Linked DNA regions of Homo sapiens: regions 1 and 3 are each linked to region 2. The links are contacts of gene promoters, found by promoter capture Hi-C in blood cells and fetal thymus (Javierre and others, 2016). All regions are on one chromosome and are shown on one strand. The core of a region is centred on a gene start or on the middle of the fragment in contact, and the rest is flanking DNA. Distances in the headings are between cores, read along the strand shown. Region 1 has its middle 41 kb from the start of LINC02896. Region 2 holds the start of UACA (uveal autoantigen with coiled-coil domains and ankyrin repeats). Region 3 holds the start of PCAT29 (prostate cancer associated transcript 29).

Region 1 (4,396 bases), core at 866-3,365, 1.3 Mb after region 2:
TGGGCATGGTGGTGGGTGCCTGTAATCCCAGCTACTTGGGAGGCTGAGGCAGGAGAATCACTTGAATCCGAGAGGCAGAGGTTGCAGTGAGCCGAGATTGTGCCACTACACTCCAGCCTGGGCAACAAGAGTGAAACTCCGTCTCCAAAAAAAAAATAATAACAATATAATAATAATAATAATAATAATAATAATAAAAGCAGTTTCAGTCTCTGGGCTTTTGGACTTGCCAGTTCTCACCATAAGCTCCCATTTTCTGCAGAAAGTTTCAGGGCCCTGTGTCCTTTATCACCAAAAAGACTGAATAATTAAGCACTGTACAAATCCAACAGCTTGTCTCTCCCCGTAGAAAGCAGATCTTCCGTTTAGTTGTAACATTTACCACCACACAAAGCTTCAAGGCTGGGAGGTCAGGCAGAGCATTTCAGGAGCTAGTAGAGGGCCAGGAGCATGCTTCAAGGAGCTTGCCACATCACAGGAGCTCATGTCCTGGGTACTGGGGAGGCCCTCACTCTGCAGCACCAGGTTCCAAGCATGCATCCAGCTGCCCTCCACGACCTGCCATCTGTACCCTGTGTTTTTTAAGAGATGATGACACCAACTGCACTAGGCATTCCTGAGGGACACCCAGTTTTACACAGCGTGGGGGTGATGTTTTCTACGTTCTTTCCATTTTCCTTCCAATGATATTCAACAGCTCACTGGCCTTTGGGGCCCACCAGCACATTGGCAGTGTACACAGCACCCTGTGATGAACAAGGCATGTGGTCATCTGTGACCTCATCCAAACCTCACCAAACACTCTGTGCAGGGACAATGAAACAGATTGTTCAGAGATTAAAATTAAGGCCCAGGAAAGATAAATGGCTTATCCAAAGCCAAACAGCTAGAAACCAACAGAATTGTCTTCCTCTTTTCTTCCCCCCTCAAATGGCTTTTGAATTTATTTGCTTGATCAATGATGGTCCTGGCAAAAATTAGTTAACCAATGCTGAGACATATGTAATGAAACAGTAATTTTAAAATTGTCTTCCTCTTTCACAGACACCCACACAAGCACACATAGCCTTGTCCTGTCACCCAGCTGTGTCCTCTAAGAAACATGTACAATGAGCCCAAGATGCTAACAGAACATTAATTTAAGAAACAGTCAGGAGATTTGGATCTAAATGGTTTGGGGGAGTGGGGAAAGGGAGGGGTGAGGACTAGGACCCTGGGGTTAGACGGGGGTTTGAATCTCAGCTCCTCAATCAAGCTGTGGGGACAAGAGCTTAGCCTGTCATGACTTCAATCCTTCATCTATAAAAGGGAGATACTGGGGTTACTGTGAAAATTAATTGAAACCACTTGTTAATGGCATACAGCAAGTGCCCGATAGATGTTATTCCTCTCCTCCACCCCCATTCCACACTGAAACAACTTGCCTCTGATCTGCGCCATCTCGTTAAGTCCCAGGAGCCAACTCAAGAGCACCTTCCTTCCCTGACCATCCCAGTCCATCTTGATCCCTTCCTCTCTAGAATCTTTACAGCATTCCTGGTCTTCAACACATGATTTAGGGGCTGTTTATTTGCCAAGTGTGTTTTGGACTAACTAAACTTGAGGGGTGATGCCTTTTCCTAGATATTTGCTCAATCAATGGCATGGGGCTGAGCATAGCAGGTGCCTGATAAACACAAGAGTCATCCTTCCCTCTTTCTTGTCCTTACTGTATTTTTTGAGTTTCCTGGAGTATGTCACTATTGATCTAATATTGAATCAAATCAAACCTAGAAGAGCTTAAAGGCAACCACAACCCTAAAGATTTTGTGTGTGTGTGTGCACATTTTCTAGCTTGTGGCAGAGAATGCCAGCTGTCCACCAAAATCCTTTTCGCTCCTCTAGAGTAATAATATTGTAGTTGGCACACAGCTACTTAGCTGTGGACTACATTGCCCAGACACCTTTGTACTTGAGTGTGACCACGTTCTTGCCAGTGGAATGTGAGAGAATTGCAAGTCCAACACCCTTTCTACATCACCCCAAAGGGTACCCATTTTTAATTACTTTAATCCCTTCACAGGGGCTGATGTGGGAGAATTGCTTGAGCCCTGGAGATCGAGGCTGCAGTGAGCTGTGATCACACCACTGCACTCCAGCCTGAGTAACAGAGTCTCAAAAAAAAAAAAAAAATCCTTCCACATAACCACTTTATAAAGAAGAACTCACATATAAAACCCAAATGAGCCTATAAAATAGGAAGCTACATGATGTGAAGCAAGCCACTTTGCCTTTCTGGGCCTCAGTTTGTCCACGTGGAGGTGAGACTCTTCCAACTCTAACATCAAATGAGTCTAAGCTGGACTTTCATTCTCTTTACCTCTCTCCTCTCACCTGCCCCCTACTAGCTGCTAGGCAGGCTGGGAAACAGCAGCCTACCTGGATTCCCTTCTAATACATCCAAGTCCCGGTTCTTTCTGACTTACAAAGAGCTTCCTGCCTCCCTTCATCATGTTTGCAATACAGTTCTGTTCTGTTAATTTCCTGGAAAAAAAATTTTTTTTCCTCAGAGATTCTGCTGCAGACCTACCTCCCCCTAGTATAAAAAACCCATAGGCCCATCCCAGGCGGCCTCCATCTCCGTCAGCTGCCACGGTGGCTGAAGCCACCACACCCGGCCCACACAGCGCCTCTGGCCTACCTTCAGCTGAGGACAAGCCAGCATGGGAAGCACGGAGGAGCTGCCCTTACAGGGGGTGCCTTGGTTGAGTGCAGGGCGCTTTCATCACAGCACCCAGCGTGGAGGTGCAGCTACCATGCATATGTCAGTACAGCCACATTCAGCATTAAAATCTTAAAATGCTTCCACACCAGGTAGTAAATAGCCACTGCCCCAAGGGTCCCCTCCAAAACCCCCCAGAACTCCAATCACCTTTCCCGGTAGAGGGACCTGCAGGGGGCAGCAGCAGCTCCAGCACATTCACTTTATGCCTAAGTCTGTGTTCATAACTATGTATTTTTTTCTTTTGTTCTTTTCCTTTTTTTTTCTTTTTTACATTTGCCAGTTTATTAAAAAGGATATTACAAAGGATACAGGATGAAGAGACACATAGGCTGGATGCAGTGGCTCACGCCTGCAATCCCAACACTTTGGGAGGACAAGATGGGCGGATTATGAGGTCAGGAGTTCAAGACCAGCCTGGTCAACATGATGAAACGCCATCTTTACTAAAAATACAAAAGTTACAGGCGCTCGCCCGTAATCCCAGCTACTCAGGAGGTTGAGCAGGACAATCTTTTGAACTTCAGAGGTAGAGGTTGCAGTGAGCCAAGATGGCGCCATTGCACTCCAGCCTGGGCGATAGAGTCAGACTCTGTCTCAAAAAATAAAAAAGAGGCCGGGCACTGTGGCTCACGCCTGTAATCCCAGCACTTTGGGAGGCTAAGGCAGGCGGATCACGGGGTCAGGTGTTCAAGACCAGCCTGGGCAACACGGTGAAACCCCGTCTCTACTAAAATACAAAAAATTAGCCGGGCGTGGTGGCGGGCGCCTGTAGTCCCAGCTACTCAGGAAGCTGAAGCAGGAGAATCGCTTGAAGCTGGGAGGCAGAGGTTGCAGTGAGCCGAGATCGTGCCACTGCATTCCAGCCTGGGTGACAGAGCAAGACTCCATCTCCAAAAAAATAAAATAAAATAAAATAAAAATATAAAAAAGACACACGTAGGGCAAGCTATGGGGACACAGAGCTGCCTGTGCCCTCCCTGGAGCACCACCTTCAGGAACCTCCATGTGGAATGCCACATGCTGTCCAGAAGCTCTCCAAACCCAGGTCTTGTGGGTTTTTATGGAAGCTTCATGACATCTCCATTCCTTCCCTCAGGGCACAGAGCAGGACCCTCGGAGGAGAGAGTCTTATGACCCGTGTAACAGGAGAAACAGGGGAAGATTAGCATCCCGGCTTGGGGTTGCCGAAGGGAGGGCAGGAGAAGGTCGGAGGGATTCTGCTTCCTGAGTCCTGCTCCTGAGGCCTGATGCCCACAATGTTAAGCCTATAACAAGTGCTTTGGGGGCGGCAAGCCAGGAACCGTGGACAAAAACCAATACATGTATACATCATAACACCACAGGTCACCCCTTGGTTTTTTAACGTGGGCCCTTTACATCAAAAGAACATACATGATCATTAGTAATTAGCCTAGTCTGTCATATTGTATAAATGTCTCCCAGGCTGAAGCCACTCAGGTATACAGGCTTCCTTTCAATCCCATCCAAGTTCCAAAAGCAGGAGTGGTCTCAGCAAACATATAGATAGCTTCACCCTTTCAGGCATGTGAGATCATTGAGACAGTGGCATCTCTTGCTCTGAGACTATTTATTTATTTATTTATTTATTTATTTTTAGACAGAGCCTCACTC
Region 2 (4,440 bases), core at 1,337-3,836:
CCATAAAGGCCACTGGACACAGACACCATGGGGACATCATCCAGACAGTTCATAAAAATAACTTGCCCAACATTTTTGGAACCTGATGCAAGCTATACTTGTGGTTCTGTCTGTTTCCTTTGCTTTATCCAGTAACAACAGAAAAGGAGGCCAGTCACCAGGACTATGATAACTTGGATGTTACAGGAGACAACCAGTACAACATAACACTGCAATTAATAACTCAAGAGCCAATTACTGAGACAGTGCTCTTGTAAGCAATTAACATTTAAGATTCAGTCAGAGGACTAGATGGTAAATGGGTGCTTATCTTAAGCCCAGAGAAAGGAGTTGATTGAGACACAAATATTTGAGCAGGACCATAGCCTCAGATCATTCCATCTGTGTTCACAATAGGGGGAATCCCAATCCTGTGTCACATAAATACATAGAACAAACAACCATAATTTGCTATAGTAGTCAATAAGAATGCATCAATTCATTCAGAAATATTTATTAAACACCTATAACATGCTAAGCATTCTAGGGAATTCAAATATATGTCAGTTATTCCCCAATTTTAAGTAAATTGAAGTCCAGTAATGAAATAAGGTTTGCTCAGCTCATATGTGTTAGTATCATATGAGAGGTATAATTGCTGTAACTATTTGGAGGATGGAGAGATCACTTCCAGTTACTTGATCAGGGAAGGTTCTATAGAGAGGAGGGCACTTGGAAGGGACATACACTTAAAAACAAACTTTTTGTTAAAGCATAACACACACATAAAAGAGAATATATTGCATACAGTACAGGCTCATTGAATTTTCACAATCTGAAAACACTAGATATGTAACCAGCACCCACAGAGAATAGTACAGTATTCCAGAAGCCCCCGACATCCCCTACCAATCACTCTTGGGGGAGTAGGATTTTCTGAGATGAATGTAGACAGACAGAAGATTATTGGGGGAGGGATCAGTATGCATAAAGATGTGGAAGTTGAAAGCCATGACCCATGTTTGGAGAATGGGCTGAAGAGTAATTCGCTTGGGGTGTTGGCTAGAGAACAGGGTCGCGTCCACGTTATACAGCTTTAAATGCAAAGAATTAGATTTTATTCGTTAGCTGCTGAAGGCTTTTGAGCAAGAGGAGTATTTTTGTAAGACTTATTGATGATGGCTGATAATTTATTGGTGATGGGACAATTAAGAGACTGAAGGTTGGGAGACTGGCTGGGAAGCTTCTGTAATAATAGTCCGGGTATGAGGTAATTTTGGCTCTGCAGTGGCAGTGAGAACAGAGTAACTGACCATACACAGACACTTTAAAGAGCCAACAAGAACTAAATGACTGGAGATCTAGAGGAAGGGGGAGGAATCAAAGAAAATTTTCTTCCAAAGATCTAATCAAGATGAAATTTAATAATATTTTTGGGTAGTTAGTTGTTATTTACTTGTTGTATAGGGTTAACACAGTCTTTGAATGCTGCCTCTCCAAGAAATTCTGAAAACTTTCTTACAGTATTTGAAGAAAACCTTGCGTTACTATAAAGAAACTCTAAAGAGAGCAACTGACCTTTCAGACAAAAAAGAGTCCTTTGTTAGTCAGAAAATGTGGACCGTTTGTCTTTTCAAATGGATGCATGCTACGATAAACGTTTTGCTGGGGGGAAAAATGACTCCAAAGAAGACTTTTGAAGATGTCACCCGAACAGCAAATTATTGGGTGCTGAGCACCTTCCTGTTTCTTCATCCTCTTAAATAATTTTTACTAACCCAGATTTCTAGGTAAGATGATTTAACTTCATCGTATACGTTTACATGTAATGTGTTTCTACAGAAAACAAAAAACCTTTTTGAAGAAAAAAGGGCGTAACTTTTTTTGACAACTTAAATCACTGGCTGTGGGAGTCATTTTTAATTGATGGCACCTCTTCTCCTCCCTCCCCGCCCCCATTCCGTCCCTTTGCTTCCAATACGGCGGATTCTTCACTCAACAAATAAACGAGCACGTAACTTGTACTGTAACTTACTATAACGTCTTTCAAGGTCTTTCTTAACTGTACGTTTTTCTGCACAATCAGCACCTTATTTCTTAGAGACTGTTTATTTCTGGAATTTTTGATGCGTGTGGTGGTTTCCAGGCACCAGGATTTGGTAGTAAAACAGGAGACTGAAAAGAAGTTGCTCCTGAAAGCTGTTCTGTGTGCAGGTAACCAAGAGTCATTTCTAAGACCAGACGGAAGGGAAGGAACTTTACTTGGTAAAGAGCGCGTGGGTGGAAAGAGGAGGGGAGTCCGGGAAGATGAGAGGTGGCAAAGGCGGGACCCCGTGCTCTCTCTAGATCTTAAGCTCCGGGTGGGCGGGCGCCGGTGGCCTGGAGCCCGGCCTGCGCGCATCTCCACGCCTCTGGCCGCCCACCTCCTCCGCCCCTTCCCGGGCTAAAGTTCCCAAACTTTTCCTCCAGCTGGGAGAGGAAGGGTGTTACTCAGTTTAAAAGGGAAGTCCCGCCCCATTCCCGCATTCCGATTGGTCGCGGTTTGCCACGCCCCCGCCAGGGCAGCGGGTCAATTGGCTACGGGAGGGGAGCCCCGCCTCAGGCCTGTCGACGTCTGCTGCCCGGGGCCCGCAGGTGGCAGGCAGGTGGGGCTGGTACAGCCCGCGCCGCCTCTGCTGCAGCCGCTGCCGTCTACTCCTTGCGCGCTGGCACTCCGCAGCCTTTAAGGTTCGCGCGGGGGCCAGGCAAGAGTTAGCCATGAAGAGCCTCAAGTCCCGCCTGAGGAGGCAGGACGTGCCCGGCCCCGCGTCGTCTGGCGCCGCCGCCGCCAGCGCGGTGAGTCCCGCGGTCCGGGCTGCGAGGCGCTCCGCTCCGGGAGCAGCGCAGCCCTCCTTTGCTGGCGAGTTCGCGCGCCGCCTTCCTCTGCTTTTCCTCTGCCAGTTCGGCTTCGGCGGCCCTGGCGACTCCTCCCTGAGGCCGGAGACTCCGTCAGCCCAGAGACCCCGGGGATCCTCCCCGCCGCCGCACCCGAGCCTCTACGGGTCTCTTCCCCACCCCTTTCTCCCAAGCCTCCGAACTTCTGGAAGAAACCTCAGTGGGGCGGTTCTGGCCCCCTCCTCCTAAATCCAAAGTTCCTCGATTGGCACCCCTACTCCGCTCTTTCCGTTGACCCCCCCTCGTCGCTCTCCTCTCCCGGCGCTCGCCCTGCTGCCCACGCCCGCTCGGCCGTGTTGGCTCCCCAGTCCCCGGGGCCGGGGCTCGCACCAGGTAGGGCAGGTGGGCAGGGCTGCGCACCCCGCGCCACCGTGCCCGGACTCCGGACCTTCCCCGGGTCTGAGACAGCGTCAAGCCCTGCCGGGCTGGTGGACGTCCCGTGCTGGCCGCTGTCGTTGTCACTGGGAAGTTTGATTCCCCAGCGAGGCAGAGGGAATCGGCTTAGTCGTAAAGACAAAACCCCACAGGGTGGTGACCCTAGAGGTGGTGAAGTTGGGAGGGGTGGTGGTGATGTGGGTTGTGTAAATCGCACCTGTGGGGCGGGATCCGTGCGGGGCTCTTTCGGTGCTGACCTGCAGCGCGGCCTCAGTGTGCGCGCCAAGGAGTAGTCGGGGCCTCTTTAGTTGGCAGGAGAACAGAAATCTTGAGAAACAGCCTGACCGCAGATGTTGTGATTTAGATAATTTGTCACGTTACAAGAATGGCGATATCATCAAAATTCTATATCATTAAAATAAGTGCCACTTACAAAGTCTTGGAAGAGTCGAACGTAAAGGAGTTGTTATGCTCCAACTGCACAGTTACCTAGTTGGGGTAATTAAAATGAACCTTTACAATTCAACGCAGATTTTACCAAATGATTATATTCTTTTTATCAGAATACTAATTAATCTGCTTCTGCTTTTTTGAGTTAATTCAGTTATGCCTTTCTCTCCACCTATATCGAGGATTATTTTACTTGGACATAAAGGAAATTGTGGAGGAACTACCTAGACTTAAATTCCTATTTCAAAAAAAGAGAGTAGATTCAGATGACGTAATTGATGTTCTTTGATAAAGCATGAAGTCGTTTTATAAGCTCATGGAAAACAGAGATTACTTTGTTTCACTTTTTTTTTTAAAAAAAGTAACTGGCAGAAATGTCATTTAGTGATATTGGAGTTCATTACAGTTAAGATTCTACTTCTGTAATGCAAGTTGTGTTTTTAGCCTTATAGAAGATACAAGTTTCTAGATTTATTAGCTTTGTTTTCCCTGGTTGTGTTTGATTTGCACTAAGGATGTAAATCCCACTTGGAGGTTTATATGCCTTAATTTTATCCAGTTTTCTAGAAATGCAGAGTATTTAGTAGGTATTATCAGCATGATAGTTTGCATTTTATACATTTGGAACATAAAGTGCATATCTCTGAGCTTAAATCTTTAGCACTCAATTGAGCGTTCTATTTTTCTCAAAATGACATAATA
Region 3 (4,393 bases), core at 1,135-3,634, 1.2 Mb after region 2:
CACGTACCTCTCCCTGGCTGCAGCTGTTGGAACAGCAATGGACTCCTGACTGAGGGGAGGCACCCCATTGGCTAGCCATTGACCAATCAGATTCTGTCTCCTGGGTCTCTGGACTTAGATTCTTGGTATTGGGCCCATAACCTGAGAGATCATGTCCAAGTTTAAGTGAACAAGTTAAAACCTAGAAAAGGCAGAACAGCCGGGTGTGGTGGCTCATGCCTGCAGTCCCAGCACTTTGGGAGGCCCAAACGGGTGGATCACCTGAGGTCGGGAGTTCGAGACCAGCCTTACCAGCATGGAGAAACTCCGTCTCTACCAAAAATACAAAATTAGCCGGGCATGGTAGTGCATGCCTGTAATCCCAGCTACTCCGGAGGCTGAGGCAGGAGAATCGCTTGGAACCCACGAGACAGAGGTTGCGCTGAGCCAAGATTGTGCCATTGCACTCCAGCCTGGGCAACAAGAGCAAAACTCTGTCAAAAAAAAAAAAAAAAAAAAAAAAAAAGAAAGAAAGAGAGAGAGAAGGAAGGAAAGAAAGAAGGAGAAAAAGAAAAGGCAAAACAGAGAAAGCCAGTCTGCAGAGAAAAGAATGAAACAAAGCTACTGAGATAAGCTGAGATGAAAAAAAAAAAAAAAAAAACACCCAGAGAAACACAGGCAAGAAGCTAGGAAAGTCTCTGAGCCTCTCACGGGTCTGGTTGTCATCCCTGCCCTTGAAGTCGGTGAGATTCCTCATAGCCTTCCAACGAAATCATTGTTATTACTGAGAGTTAAATTTATAATACTTCTATTTCTTGCAACCAAACAATTATTGACCAAGACCCCTATTAAGACATCACCTATGTGCTGCACTGTACTTGTTCAATACTGAGGATCTCACCTCTTCTTCTTCTTCTTGCCCACCTTTAGGTCTAACTGGACCTCCTTTCTCTCCTGGTATTCCTCTGTCTTCATTTCTTTAGTGCTTCCTTTCAGGGTCTCAGGTAATAATAACCAGCAGTGTGCCCCAGTGATTAGCAGATGAGTGAGCTGTGTAACCTAGACACCATGTTCCACTTAATGGTTTGTTTGCTCAGCCTACTTCAAAGGAGGCTGTTAGCCTATAAGTCAATAATTAGTCATTCAACAAATACCCATCAAGCTATGGCCCAACCCCAGCAAAGATATGTTGAAAAAAAAAAAAAACTTTTGAAGAGCAAATATAAGCCTTTATATATGGTTGACTTAGCCGTTTCTATTTTCCTTTCACAACAGAGAGGCAATGTTGATGTGCTACCAGTCCTAATGCAGCTAGAAGTTATCTGTTACACCAATGACCCCATCAAAAAGAGAACTGTTAACACAGGCCCAGTTTTTACTTTGCTTGTAGTGGTGGGGTATTAGCTAATTGTTGCCCATTAAGAGAAACAAATAATCCCCAGTGAGTCCCAAAAAGAAGTGGAAGTGGAGCTGAATCACCTGTAAGATCAGGGCTTCTCTTAGCTGCTCACAGCTGCCTGACCCAGTCACAGAAGAAGATGTAGAGGGGATTCATTCCATCTTACTTTTATTGGGTTTTCTTTTACTATGTGAAATGAATCTCAAGAAAACATCTCTCATCCCCCCAAACTCTATCATTGTTCTACTCCTCAATTTTAGTATTACTACTGTAATGATAAGATTATAGCTACTACATAATAAGATTAAACATTTAAAACCATCTAACAAATCACCCATAAGCTTACCCCCATCATTCAATCAACAGTCTTCTCTCTTGTCTCTTTTTTTTTTTCTTTTGGCACATTACCTCCCAAAGGTAGAATTTTCACAGACATGACCCTAGCATGCATGTCAGGTTGCAATTTGCTGTTTGATCCTGCCTGCCATTTTTTCATGTGTAAGCAATATTTTCTAGGCTCATGTTTCCCACTTATGACCTTCAACCCCTTCTAAAGCTCTACCCAATTATGACTCAAGGAATTCCCATTTTTCCCTCCTCTATTCTCCAGCTCTCCTTTGGAGTGCCACTTGCAGAGCTGCCTGGGAGGTGCCTCACTGCTGTCCTACAGGGCCCACTGACAAACCAGGCAGTCGCGTTTCCCCAGGCATGGCCACCCCTGCAGCCACCCCTGTGGCACGCTGCCACTTCTGTGTGAGTGTTCCGCCCATGCCCATCACCCATCACACACTCCGCTGGGTACCACACACTGCCTCCCCAGGTACTGATGTTTCCTCAGAGTGCTCTTGGCCTTTGCAGGGACCACAGCTCTCATTTACCTCCTTGAACACCCAGCACCTAACACAGAACATAATACATAGCAGATGCTAAAAAATATTGGATGAAAAAATGAGTGAATAAATAAACTAATGCTTTGTGGATGGACAAAGGAGCCATAAGGTCCCCTGGCCTCCTCTTTCTGCACATGCTTCTCCTTCTCCCACAGCGCTCTGCCACCCTTGCCAACGTATATGCTTTGAGGACTCATTCCCTAAACATCCACCTCAGGGCCTACAAGCTGCACACACAAGAAGGGCCAGGCTGCAGGGACTGGGAGTTGGTTCAGTTTATGTTGTCTTGAATCAGAGAAAGGAGCATCCCAGGACTTTTCCCACCGTCAGCTGTTCCCTCCCACTCTTTCCTGTCTGAGCTCTGGCTCTCCTCCCCATCTCGCCATGAATTCTTCCCATCACATCGGGGCATCTCCCTTCTCTTGCTCACTTAAAATAAGTAGTGAGCACCTGCTGTGTCTCAGATGCAGACACATCAGAGGAATCACTGTCCTCAAGGAGCTCACAGTCTGGCAGGTCACTGAGATGAAAATAAGTGCAGTAATATGATCTTACGGAGGAGAAGGCCGAGAAGCCTCGCCACAGAGCATAAATGGTATCTCCAGCTGTGCACGAGTAGTTTACGTGCCATGTGGGCTGAGGTCCCTCAGTGGCCTGCAGTGGGGTCTGATGTTCTAGTTTCAAGGTGTCCCTTTGGGTTAAGCATTGCCCTCTTCTTGCTACTGCTTTCAAAGGTGAATCCCCAACTTCACATCCCTCAGACTCTAGGATATGAAGCTTTCCACCCTCTCTAGAAGGGTTAGGGTTGCACTAGAGCATAAGCTTGCTGGCAGCTGGGGAAGGAGTATTATTGTGAGGAAAACACAGGAAGACAGCTTGGAGGCTCCAATGACCCACTTCCCCATGGTGAAGGTCAGCTTTTAAGAGGGTGAACCAGAGGCAATGGCTGACAAACCCAGGTCGTCTTACGACTTTGTGCCCTGAAAGATCTCAGAAGCCTCATTCCTGAACCATCAGCAGAACTTCGAACCTGTAAGGGAAGCTAGAGCTCTCTATGTTTGGACCTGCTCAGTTTTACAGCTAGGGAAACTGAGCCCAAAGAAAAAGAAAAAATGAGTGGGTCTCTCCCTTAAGATTCCCTTAATTGTGCATTGATTCCTGTTTTGCAAAATGACACTGGAACATGTATACCTCCCTTGATCAAATAATTCCACTTTGAGAATCTATCTAAGAAAATAATCCTAAGTACAGAAAAAGCTTTGGGCACAAAGAGAGGTTCATGATAGCATCGTTCAAACAAAAAGTACAAAATGAAGAGGGAACAGGCCAAGTAATTCTCCTCGATGGGAAACAAGTTGCAGTCTCTCCACTAAAAATTATCACTCAGTCCAACTTTTTAATAAGTGGGAAAATTCTAGTATGATATTAGAGTGGGGGTTGATGCAAGTTTTTATGTGGGCCTATGTGAAAAAAGCAACTGCATAGAACTGAGAGTGAAAAGAAAAAAGTTGGTTTTCCTGTGTGTTCTACTTGTTCTTTGTGTATTTTTAAGCAGCTATTATAGGTAGTGAGGTTATAAAAGAATATCCTGAAAGAGACTTTCATATTGGAAAAAATTAAAATTCTGTTTTTTAAATTTTATTTTTATTTTATTTTATTTTTTGTGTATGATAGGGTCTCTCTCTCTGTTGCCCAGATTGGAGGGCAGTGGCACAATCACAGCTCACGATAGCTTCCAACTCCTGGGTTCAAACAATCCTGCCACCTCAGCCTCCCAAGTAGCTGGGACTATAGGCACATGCCACCATGCCCAGCTGATTTTTTTTTAATAAGAGACAAGGTCTCACTATGTTGCCTAGGCTGGTCTCAAACTCCCGGCCTCAAGTGATCCTCCCACCTCGGCTTCCCAAAGTGTTGGGATTATAGGCATGAGCCACCACACTCCATCAAAAATTTGATTTTTAAATGATGATATCGAGGAGCCAACTTACCAGGAAAGGAAAGGTAGTTGCTAGCAGCTGGGGCAGCCTGTCACAATTAGTATGAAGGCCACTATCAGAGCCACTTTTTCCTCAAATGATCCCTTAGGACTTCTGCTAGACCACCAAGTATTCACTGGGATATA

The links. Contacts are between HindIII fragments. The CHiCAGO score rates a contact against its expected background, and 5 or more counts as called.
Region 1: a contact is called between a fragment that was not itself captured here and the fragment with the promoter of UACA in region 2, in 1 of 17 cell types (naive B cells). The highest score is 6.4, in naive B cells.
Region 3: a contact is called between a fragment that was not itself captured here and the fragment with the promoter of UACA in region 2, in 1 of 17 cell types (naive B cells). The highest score is 5.8, in naive B cells.

Annotation. Positions count from the first base shown.
Region 1 is chr15:69,501,207-69,505,602 of GRCh38, reverse strand. No RefSeq gene overlaps it. Among named protein-coding and RNA genes, the nearest start is that of LINC02896, 41 kb to the right of the region's middle. The HindIII fragment of the contact is 3,437 bases long and covers 397-3,833 here.
Region 2 is chr15:70,761,704-70,766,143 of GRCh38, reverse strand. UACA (uveal autoantigen with coiled-coil domains and ankyrin repeats) reads left to right here and starts at 2,586. Exons shown (of 19, transcript NM_018003.4): 1 at 2,586-2,814. The coding sequence starts at 2,737. RefSeq lists a silencer at 2,412-2,821. The HindIII fragment of the contact is 4,014 bases long and covers 1,225-4,440 here.
Region 3 is chr15:69,588,801-69,593,193 of GRCh38, reverse strand. PCAT29 (prostate cancer associated transcript 29) reads right to left here and starts at 994. Exons shown (of 4, transcript NR_126438.1): 1 at 881-994. The HindIII fragment of the contact is 1,326 bases long and covers 1,722-3,047 here.